Regions from separate parts of the Homo sapiens genome. Here all the other regions are linked to region 3. Evidence: promoter capture Hi-C in human tissues and cell types (Jung and others, 2019). All regions are on one chromosome and are shown on one strand. Each heading gives the region's core, a stretch centred on a gene start or on the middle of the fragment in contact. The rest is flanking DNA. Distances are from core to core; before and after follow the strand shown. Region 1 has its middle 5.6 kb from the start of CYP7A1. Region 2 overlaps NSMAF (neutral sphingomyelinase activation associated factor). Region 3 holds the start of SDCBP (syndecan binding protein).

Region 1 (3,511 bases), core at 421-2,920, 47 kb after region 3:
TCCAAAAATGTTTTCTCATTTTCTTAAAATGTCAGAAAGAAGACAACAGAACTTACTTGCCTTTTACAACAGAACAAATGGAGCAAGTCAGAGGTCAAGGTGCTAACATTCTTCATGGTTCCTCACCACCTTTTGTTCTGTTAGCCTATAGGGAAAAGTCTTCTTTCTCATCTCATTATCTGCAGGGGAAAATAGTACTTCAGCAAGTGATCCAGTTGAAGAACATCTCCAGGGCCATTAACATACAGAGGTTTGTTCTACTCTCTCTGTGCTCCATGTCTAAGAACCTCAGCCTTCCTCCTAGGAGCTAGGGAAAGTCAGGAAAGTGAAAATAGTACCCCAGCTAATGAACTGCCCTGTGCTGGCCTGAGAAGACAAGACCAGCTTCCTCAATGGCTCAAGATTTGGTTTCCTTCAATATGTCCTTTTGGAAATATGTCCATGACATCGGAGAGATAAAAGGAGCCAGGATTGCTCACATTCAGGAAAAAAGCTCCACTATCTTTCTCTCTCTCCCTCTTTCTCTCCCTCCCCCTGACTGCCCTCTTCTCTATCTCTCTCTCTCCCTGAGCTGGCAAGGTTAATTGGTCGCAGCAAGTCTGATGAACCAGTTGGGCTTCTTGGACTAAGTTTCAGAAGGCTGAGACTGGGATGAAACTTATCACAAAAGTAAAGGAACCACTTAGCCTTCTTTGATTCCAGGCCCCCAAGCCTGTCTTTAACTTGGATGAATGGAGTTCTTCCTGTGCTACAGCACCGCATAGTAGGGGCTGCCCTGGGCCTGAAGCCAGAGCTTCACCATATTCAGTCATCTGTACATTGAGGCAACAGTGCCTGCTTCATGGTGCTACCCTGTGGATTAAATGAAGCAAGTTTTTGATGATCTTGACACTGAATATTGATGCATTGGTCAGACTTTTTCTGATAGTAAAAAATGGTGGTTTCTTGTTGTCAGAAATCAAATCAATATATTTGTTCTCCTGTTGATTAGCTATGTCCCCTAGAGGGCAGCGACTTTGCCTGTCTTATTTATCTCTGCATCTCCAGCACTTAAAAGGTGCCTTGCATAAGGTACATATTAAGTTCATATGAATGAATGAATGAAATGCATATGATTTATTCATACCCAGTTGGTGGTGTGTTTACCCTTTCCTAAACCTGTAGTCAGATGGCCTTTGAATCCCCTGTACTTCTTGTGAGGTACTGTGCTGTAAAGGTGGACTATCACACTTCAATTCAGAGCAATCTGGGCTTGAATCCTGGATTTGCCAGTTTATTAACTATAGCAAACATTTTTGAGCATACATTGTGCCAAGTGCTAGGCTAACTGTCTTACACACATTGTCTTATTTCGTCTTAATATCTATGAGTCATGCACTATAATCATCCCCATTTTACAGATAAGAAAGCAAAGACTTGGAGAGGAAAAGCATCTTGTTCAAAGGTAAATACTTAATGGCCAAGCCAACATGCAAATCTAGATTTAATTGCAGCTTCCTCTTCATCTACCATTCGAACTAATTCAAGCTATGTAATATTTCCCACTGAACCTTCTTGCCTCTACTTCCTCATCTTTAACATGGTCAAAATACCTGTCCTGCCCAAGTTAGTTATTTCATTAAAGTAGAAAAATACAAGAGAAGCTTTTAAAATGTGAAAACCTCAAAATGAATGTAAAAATTATGATGATTCCTTTAGAATTTGTCAACACCTTCTTTTTCTCTACTCCTGCTAGGCATTTACAATCTCAAAACCATGTATTTAAGATGCAAAACTATATTTGTATTTGCCATAACTGGTTTCTTTCCCTATGGCTTCATGAAAATGTGGCTCGAATGTGTTTATTATGAAAGCCCCAAATTAATCACGACAAGACTTCACCAGCCCATTCCACAATAGACTCCCATTACTTTGCCCTGACTTAGAAACCTCATATACAGTCTTGATTCAGTACAGCTCTGTGATGCTCTTGGAAAATGCAAAGTGCTTTCTTAATTGAGGCAATCTGTGTCCCACTACAGAGAGGTGGTTTAACTTGTGAATTCAGGAAAGCAACTGGTTTGACTCAATTTTTTGGCCATGTTCTCAGTTCATTTTATTTAAAGCAATCAAACTGATGTGTGTGTTCTATGTTCATTGAACCATAGTGGGTTTACATAAGCTCATAGTTTTAGTTGTTCTTTTTACATTCTACTCCTCTGGTTTGAGCTTCTATGTTTTGTATATTTCCATTCATGGGGTTGAGATATTTGATTCAGGCTTTATATTTTCTGAGGCCCGGAATAAGTATTTCTTCCACACTTTAGGAAGTGTGGTCCTCTTCACTACTCTATGTAAACAAGAGGAAACTAACAGGTTGTGGTGGGATTAGAATTTAGTTTATTATTAGAACTCAGTTTATTTTGCCAGGTTTTCTGGCAACTTTACCTCTTTTCTTTGTCAGGGCACTTACGCTTTCTCCTGACGCAGTGGAAACTCCACAGGGCCAGGGCTCAGGGCTTTCTTGCTCACATTGTCTCCACTGCTGACTCAGAGCCTGGCATGTAGTAGAGGTACAGCATGTGTGTGTGTGTGTGTGTGTGTGTGTGACACAGACAGAGAGAGACAGAGAGAGTGAGACACAGAGAGAGACAGAGAAACAAGAGAGACACACAGAGAGAAAGATGGTGAGACAGAGACATAGAGAAAGAGAATAAATAAAACTTTACCAGCCGAAAAAAAGAGAAGAGAAAAGCAGGCAAAGGACGTGCCATTGAGCTAGCATTCATTCAATAACTGATGCACCAGGCGCTGTGCTAAAAACACATCCAGTTGTCATAAAATCCATTCACTCATCAGGAAATCTTTTAGTATTTCCTTACAGTCTATTAATAGTTTTGACAGCTGTAACAAGCATATGAATTTCCACCTGTTGGATTAAAAGCAGCACATTTGGGCTGTGATAAGTACCATTTGTGGACACATGACAGCAGCAAGAAGTGACATCCTGAGAAGGAAAAACATAAACTACGTATAATAAGAAAAATGAATAAATATGAATATTTAAGACTCTGCTTTTCTGGGTGTGTATGTTTCCTGTGCTTTTGTTGTATAGAAGAGGGGTTGTAAGTGTGGGAGTAAAAATATTAGGGTAAAGGAAATCTAGATAAACACTGACCAATCTACATTTGAAAGGAGCTTGTGATGTTCTGAGAGGGGGTGAGGAGGGTTGTGAATATATTTCACAGTTTTTTTTTTTTTTGACAGTTGTTATTTAGTTTTTATTTAGCTTTATATAGTTTTATTTCATAATCATAAACTTAACTCTGCAATCCAGCTAGGTATGGAAGGGAATAGGGAATATATAACACCCAAAGGAGCTGTAGCAAGAGCACAAAGATTATAGGATAACGTGAGCAAATGGGGTGGAGGGGTGCTCTCACAAGGTCTGTGGTTAGGATAAAACACAAGTCAAATTTATTAGAGTTGTGCACAGTCAGCAATGGTGATCTTGCTGGTTTTGCCCTTCCTG
Region 2 (3,287 bases), core at 708-3,207, 57 kb before region 3:
TATTCCTTCAGATCTCAGATACACACTCCTATATATTTTTTTCATTCTTTTTTCTCCTTTGGTTTTGTTTTAGTTAGGACACTTTTTATTGACCTGTTTTCAGCCTTACTGGACCTTTCCTCCACTGCATCCAGTCTGTTGTTAAGATTGTTTAGTTAGTTCTTTGTGATATCAACATTTTTATTCCTATATTTCCGTTTGGTTCTTTTTCATAGTTTCTATTTCTCTGCTGAAACTCTGTCTTTTCACATGTGTTGTCCATCTTTTGTTCTTGTTGACCCACTGCACCCAGGCTGGAGTGCAGTGGCATAATCATGGCTGACTGAAGCCCCATCCTCCCGGGCTCAAGTGATCCTCAGCGTCCTGAGTAGCTGGGACCACAGGCACATGCCACCATGCCTGGCTAATTTTTTATTTTTTGTAGAGATGGTATCTCAGTATGTTACCCAGCTGGTCTCAAACTCTTGGGCTTAAGTGATCCTCTTGCTTTGGCCTCTCAAAGTGCTGGGATTACAGGTGTGAGCCAACATGCCTAGACTGTTCTTGATCCTTTATCATATTTACTATAGTTATCTTAAAGTCTTCCTCTGATTGATCCAATGTCTGACACACCTTCTATAGAGTCTTTTCTCTCTTGAGCATGAGTCATATTTTCTTGCTTCTTTGTTATGCATTATAATTTTATTGTATTGTAATTTTTTTATTGAGCAGTTTGTTAAAAAGGAAGTGTTGAGACCGAACTAAATAATATTTACCTCCAGAAGTGGTCAAGCCACCTCTTATTCTGTCAGGCTACTTGTACAGGGAGGCTCTGTCAATCAAATCTGTCACTGAGCTGCATTAAGACTTTGTTGCACCTGTGGTTAAATTTAAGCCAACACTGCCTACAACTCTATTGAGGGAGTGATAAAGACTTTCTCTTCCACAGGACTTGGGATCTCAGCACTTGAAGGATTCTAGAGATATCTTTGTGCTTTATAACTGAGCCATCGGGTTTCTGAACTGTGGGAGATTTCCCTTGTTTTGCACCTCAGTCGACAGCATTTTTGGATCTCTGGGGAGCTTTCTTTGCTCTCCAGTCTCAACTCTGGCTTTCCATTTCCCTGAAGATCTCTCTTCATTCTGCAGCCCTTACTCACTTCTATCATAGGTTGCTCCTCCTCCTGCCACTCACCTGTTGATCTCTTCTTTCCTTTTTGCAATCATGTTCATTTAGGTTGCTTTACATGCTCAACATTCCAGTCGGTTTTAAAAAGCTATGAAGATTGTTCAGTATATCCAGCTCATTTTGGTTGTTAGGGTGAAAGCTTCAACAGTCTCTTACAGCTTTCCCATCCTAACTTGAGGTGGAGATCTTCCTCTGTATCTTTTTGTCCTGTCACTTATAAAGAGATTTATTTTTAACCCAGTTATTTCAGTAATTGCCTTAAAATGTTGATGATTTGGTTGTTTTCCCTTATTTTTTCTTAAATCAGTTAAAGCAGAATGAGAAGGGACTTTGTTGATTAAATATTTTAGGAGTGAGTAGTGAAGAGATCATTTTTCAGAGGTTTTCTGCAGTAAATTCACAGAGGGATATACTCAAAAATATACAAAGGAATATACAGTTACTCAAATGTATTATAATTCAAGTAATTATAATTATGTAGTCAGAGCCTTATAAAGTGTAGTGTGAAATAAATGCCACTTGTGTCAAAATGGTTTATAGGATGATAAAAATAATGACAGAAAAATAGGAAATAATTTAAATGTAAGAATAGTTTCAAGGCCTATTTATTTTGGGGGGAATGAGTTTAGCTAAGGGTTATTTGGTATTATTTACTTGTCTGTCATGGCTTCTGTGGTAGATAATCTCACCTATTTCTTTGAAAAATGAGTTTTTATCATGCCATTTCTAAAGAGTCAGTTTTATCTAAGCAATCAATTTATATTACCATTTTTCTTATATTAAATGTAGTGTTTAGACAAATGTCATAGAAAGTCACACTGTAGCTCCCTTAGATAAACCTAGAAAGTAGATCAATTTCTGATTTTTCTTACTTTTGCTGAAAAACCTATTTTCAGGTTCCAAAACATTTCTGAAAAGCTGCACATGGAATGCAAAGCAGAAATGGTGACGCCTCTGGTGACTAATCCTGGACACGTGTGCATCACGGACACAAACCTGTATTTTCAGCCCCTCAACGGCTACCCGGTGTGTAGACCACAGGGTCAGGTGGGGAGCTGCCCATGTTTAAGCTGTTTCCAGACCATGGCCTCACAATGCCAGGGACCTCACTTTTTGATGAGGATCAAGTCATGTCCCTGCCCACCCCCTTCACAGGCAGCATCTGTGTATTTTACAAACACCGTGTGTAATCGTGATGTGTAGTCTCTGAAGTTTGAGTTCTTCTGATCTGTTTTCAGTCATGTCAGGGGCACTTGCTCTCAGTGTGGTGAAAAGAAACCCTGCTCCTCCCTATTTTAGTAAAGGGTCGCTAGAGATTTAGACCTTTCTTCTAGGAGGCATTTCCTAGAGACCAGTGAAATATACTATGATTAATAAGAAATAGATTTTGAAATATATTTGCTTATATATACACAGATGTTGGTATTTCTTGCTTCTTCTTAATGATGAACAACCTCAGTAGATCTGAATTTTTCCTGAAGGAGCACTATGAGCAGGTCCTCCCAGCTAGTGCAGAGGTGTGTGTGGAGATCCTGCCGTCTGGCAGTTATGGGCTCCTGCTAGGATGTTGGAAACAATCTTCTCTTTCACAATGACACAGACTTACAAGGCCAGAAAATAAATATAAACTTAGATATCCATGCTGAAACTTGTAAAGATTTGTTGCTTATCTAGATCTGGCCACTTTTTAGCATGATCCATTAAAAGAACAGAAATCCTAACACACCCTGGTAGTGCTGTGGGGCCATTTGGCAGGGCCCAAGAATTCTGCCAGAGAAAGTTCCACCTTGGAAATTCTCCAGGCTGGTCATTACAGGGCACTAAAACATCTCAAACTCTCCTGAGTGAAAGATTATGCTATAGTGATTGTGTCCACTAGGTGGTGGGGCTCACTTTCCTAGTTCTCCAGTAGACACTGCATGCTGCTAGCACAGCATTCTCAGGGAGTGTAAAAAATTGGCTTGGCTGCTACTATTGCTTGGGTCAGAAATTTTGAGAAAAAATGTCTGTGTACCCTAGCTTCACAATCCATGGTATGGGCCTTTACCCCTTCCCAATACTGGCCAGGATCCTTGACCAGTCATTTCCAAGACCTGACTCTGGGACTCCGGGGCAGTTT
Region 3 (3,174 bases), core at 301-2,800:
TAAAAGTAGAAAGTATTTCAAAGTTATTTGGGGGCGCTTTTCTTTTTTAGAATCTCTTGGCATTTAATACCTATAAAAAGTTCCCAAATCTGGCAAAAACAGGGAAAATAGTTGTCACGCTCATTTTAAGAAACTCTTTAATTAAACAGTACATTTAACCGGCAACCATTAGCAAATTCTTCCCCTTTTGTTCATCTTTTTCCCCTTTTTACATCTTTTCCTATAATGCCCAAAACTAAAAGTTAATGTCTCCAAAGTTAAATTTAATTTATAATGGAGTGACTATTTACTGACCATTTTAAAAGTCATTCTACTTCTTTTTATTCTGTGCCACAAACCACTAGATTTATAATATTTATGTACCATTTAAGGCACAAATTTTATAGAATTAAGTTGGTAACACAGAAGACAAAAGGACGTATTTTCTACCGTTATCCCTCAATCTTAAACAGGAAAATAAAAAGACTGAACAAATTTGAGTTTTAACTAATCACATACACATTTAGAAATCAATTTAATTTAAAAGGCCCGCAGTTGTTTTTCAAGGTAAATTTCCTGCTTTAATCAACGATTTCTTTTTGAAACAAGCGGATGTTAAGAGTTTGGTAAGCCGAGCGTACTTTCTAAGCAATGTACGTAATGGAAAAGATAACAGTAAATGTGTATGTGGTTATACAGACTAGATAATCTACAAACTCCTTTCAAAAATGGACACATTAGAAGACTCCATGACTCAATAATCACCACTTTGGTAAAAGTGAAAACTTTCCACATCCATATGCCTTCCCTTTCCCATTATTACAAGGAAATCCTGAAAGGAAGGCTCTGAGTCATCATATCTCAGGGGTCAGATCTCAGGGGTATTTCCTTCTAAACACACCCTACTGGAAACGTTTCTCCCTCAGGTCCAACTTCTCCAGGAAAAAGCTCAAAGCGAACAACCTCTCCCCACCCCCTTCCAAAAAAGTCAAGGCTTCGCCCAATAAACAAACACTTCCTTCCTCCTTTCAAATCCAGGACTTTCCGAATAACCCAAAAGAAGGGCGATTAAGCACAGCCCTAGAAACGCCGAGCACTGGGAGGAACCGTGGCCAGAGGCTCTTTCTTATGTCGAGATCTTATCGAGGAGAAAACAAGGATCGAGAGACGGTCCCAGGAAGAACCCCAGAGCTGGGGCGGGGGCTGAAGGCGTTCACCCAGCCGGGCCTCCGGGCTCTGCCAGCCCCAGCCCCAGCCCCAGCCCCAGCCCCAGCCCGGGCAGGAACCCGAAACGCGCGGGGTCGCGGCAGGAAGAGCGCGCTGCTCCCGCAAACTTGCCCCCCCAGCCAGCAGGGCGCAGGGAGGGGCGCGGAGCCCCCTGAGGAGAGGGCGTCGCCGCTGCCTCGCGAAAACGGCTGCGACCAGGATGCAGTCTGTGAAGTGGCCCAGGGACCGTCACACCTCTGCCCCAAGTCCCCGCGCCCGGGACCTGGCACCGGCGTCCCTCCTTGCCCCCTTGGCCTCTCACCTAGCCCACAAGGAACCGCTCGCCGCCGCCGCCTCCGGTCACTGGCACGGACTTCTGAGGCCCGAGTGTAAGAGAGCGGTGCGCGCCCGAGGACCGCCCCCGAGGCGCGTCATGGCACCGCCCCCGCCTTCAGCCCGCGCAGTCGCACGGCGCCGGGTCGGGTGATCCCGTCCCCAAGGTAACGGGGCGGTAGGGGTAAAGAGGCCTGGGTGTGGGTCGTTCCTGCAGCTCCAGGTATCCGGCAAAGTGGGGCGGTTCATGCCGCCCGCTGTCCGCTGCCCGCTGCCCAGCGGTTATGCTCCCAGTCTTCTCCGCTCTTCGGCTGTTCGTGCCCGCGGGCCCCGTGCCACCCACTCACTACTGTGTGCATCGCAGCTCACGGTCGCTTGGTTCTCGTCGCCTCCAATTCAAAGAGGTCTCGGGAGCCCCTGTTCCCTCTTGGGATGCCTTCGACTTCCACCACTTGCTGCCCTAGTCTCACTCTCCGCTTGCTGTACCTCTCCACTATAGGCTCAGAAACGTTCCTCTCACGACCCCTTCTCAACTCCTGCTTTATTTTTCTGTTGGAAATTTGGATGTTGGGGGTGGGGGGCGTATTACTCTGTCCGCCTAAGCTAATATTCCTTCGCTATTGAGAGTTAGGTGTGGTGCTGCGCAAAAGTAATTGCTTCCCAGTAAAAAAACATAACGATCATTTCTTGAGGGCTGATTTTGTGCCAGCCATAGCTCTACGAACTTAATGTATAGTCTTATTTGGTCTTCACATCAGTCTATAAAGACATCCCATTACAGACAAAGAAACTGAGGCACAGTTTACCCAAGAGTAATCATAGTTACCACGGAATACTGTAGAGTCCTTGACAAAATAGCATTTACAAGCAGTTTATTTCTAGCTAAATTAGTGCCAGAATAATTTAATATATGGCAAAACTAATAAAAATCTGAGTGTAAAAGAGGTGACAACTAAAGATGAAAACTTTGCTCTCAGTAAGGTTATAGTTAGGCTGATGAAATGGACATTTAAAAATAATTACAAGGTAGATTGGGAAGGAAGAAATAAAACTTTTTGCTTTCAGATGAGATGGTTATCTAACATAGAAAATCCGGAAAAAATTGACACTCCTCGCCTAAAAAAACAGAATGAAAAGCAATTATAGCAAGTTTGCATGAGCAAGTTTAAAACAGGCTCATTCTAAGCCAAAATGCTTGGGACCAGAAATGTTTCCAATTTTGGATTTTTTTTTTTTTTGCTTTTGTAATATTTGCATTATATACTTATGGGTTTACCATCCCTACTCCAAAACTCAAAATGTTCCAGTGAACATTTCCCTTGGTCCTCATGTCAGCACTCAAAAAGTTTCATATTTTAGAGTAGTTCATATTTTGGATTTCTGTACTAGGAATAGTCGACCTGCATACATGGTCTGTTGTTTTCTTATATACCATCAATAAACAATTGGTATTTGAAATTAAAAACAATAACCACTGACATTAGCACCAAAATAAAATGAAATATTTAGGTATAAATCTAACAAAATATGTAAAAGGTTTATACAAGAAAAACTACAAAATTCTAAATAAAAAAAACTTCCAATGAGAAAAACTACAAAGTTCAAAGGAGATCTAAATAAATTTAAAGATATTCCATTTTCATGGATAGGAGTACT

The links. Contacts are between HindIII fragments. The study calls those that stand out against the background at their distance.
Region 1: a fragment that was not itself captured here is called in contact with the fragment with the promoter of SDCBP in region 3 in 1 of the 25 tissues and cell types used here (stomach).
Region 2: a fragment that was not itself captured here is called in contact with the fragment with the promoter of SDCBP in region 3 in 1 of the 25 tissues and cell types used here (hippocampus).

Annotation. Positions count from the first base shown.
Region 1 is chr8:58,504,016-58,507,526 of GRCh38, reverse strand. It overlaps the pseudogene PPIAP85. Among named protein-coding and RNA genes, the nearest start is that of CYP7A1, 5.6 kb to the right of the region's middle. The HindIII fragment of the contact is 5,298 bases long and covers 1-3,511 here.
Region 2 is chr8:58,608,511-58,611,797 of GRCh38, reverse strand. NSMAF (neutral sphingomyelinase activation associated factor) reads left to right here. Exons shown (of 31, transcript NM_003580.4): 10 at 2,065-2,194. Among named protein-coding and RNA genes, the nearest start is that of NSMAF, 50 kb to the left of the region's middle. The HindIII fragment of the contact is 5,427 bases long and covers 1-3,287 here.
Region 3 is chr8:58,551,637-58,554,810 of GRCh38, reverse strand. SDCBP (syndecan binding protein) reads right to left here and starts at 1,550. Exons shown (of 9, transcript NM_005625.4): 1 at 1,508-1,550. RefSeq lists a silencer at 1,168-1,697 and enhancers at 1,174-1,891, 1,798-1,977. The HindIII fragment of the contact is 17,033 bases long and covers 1-3,174 here.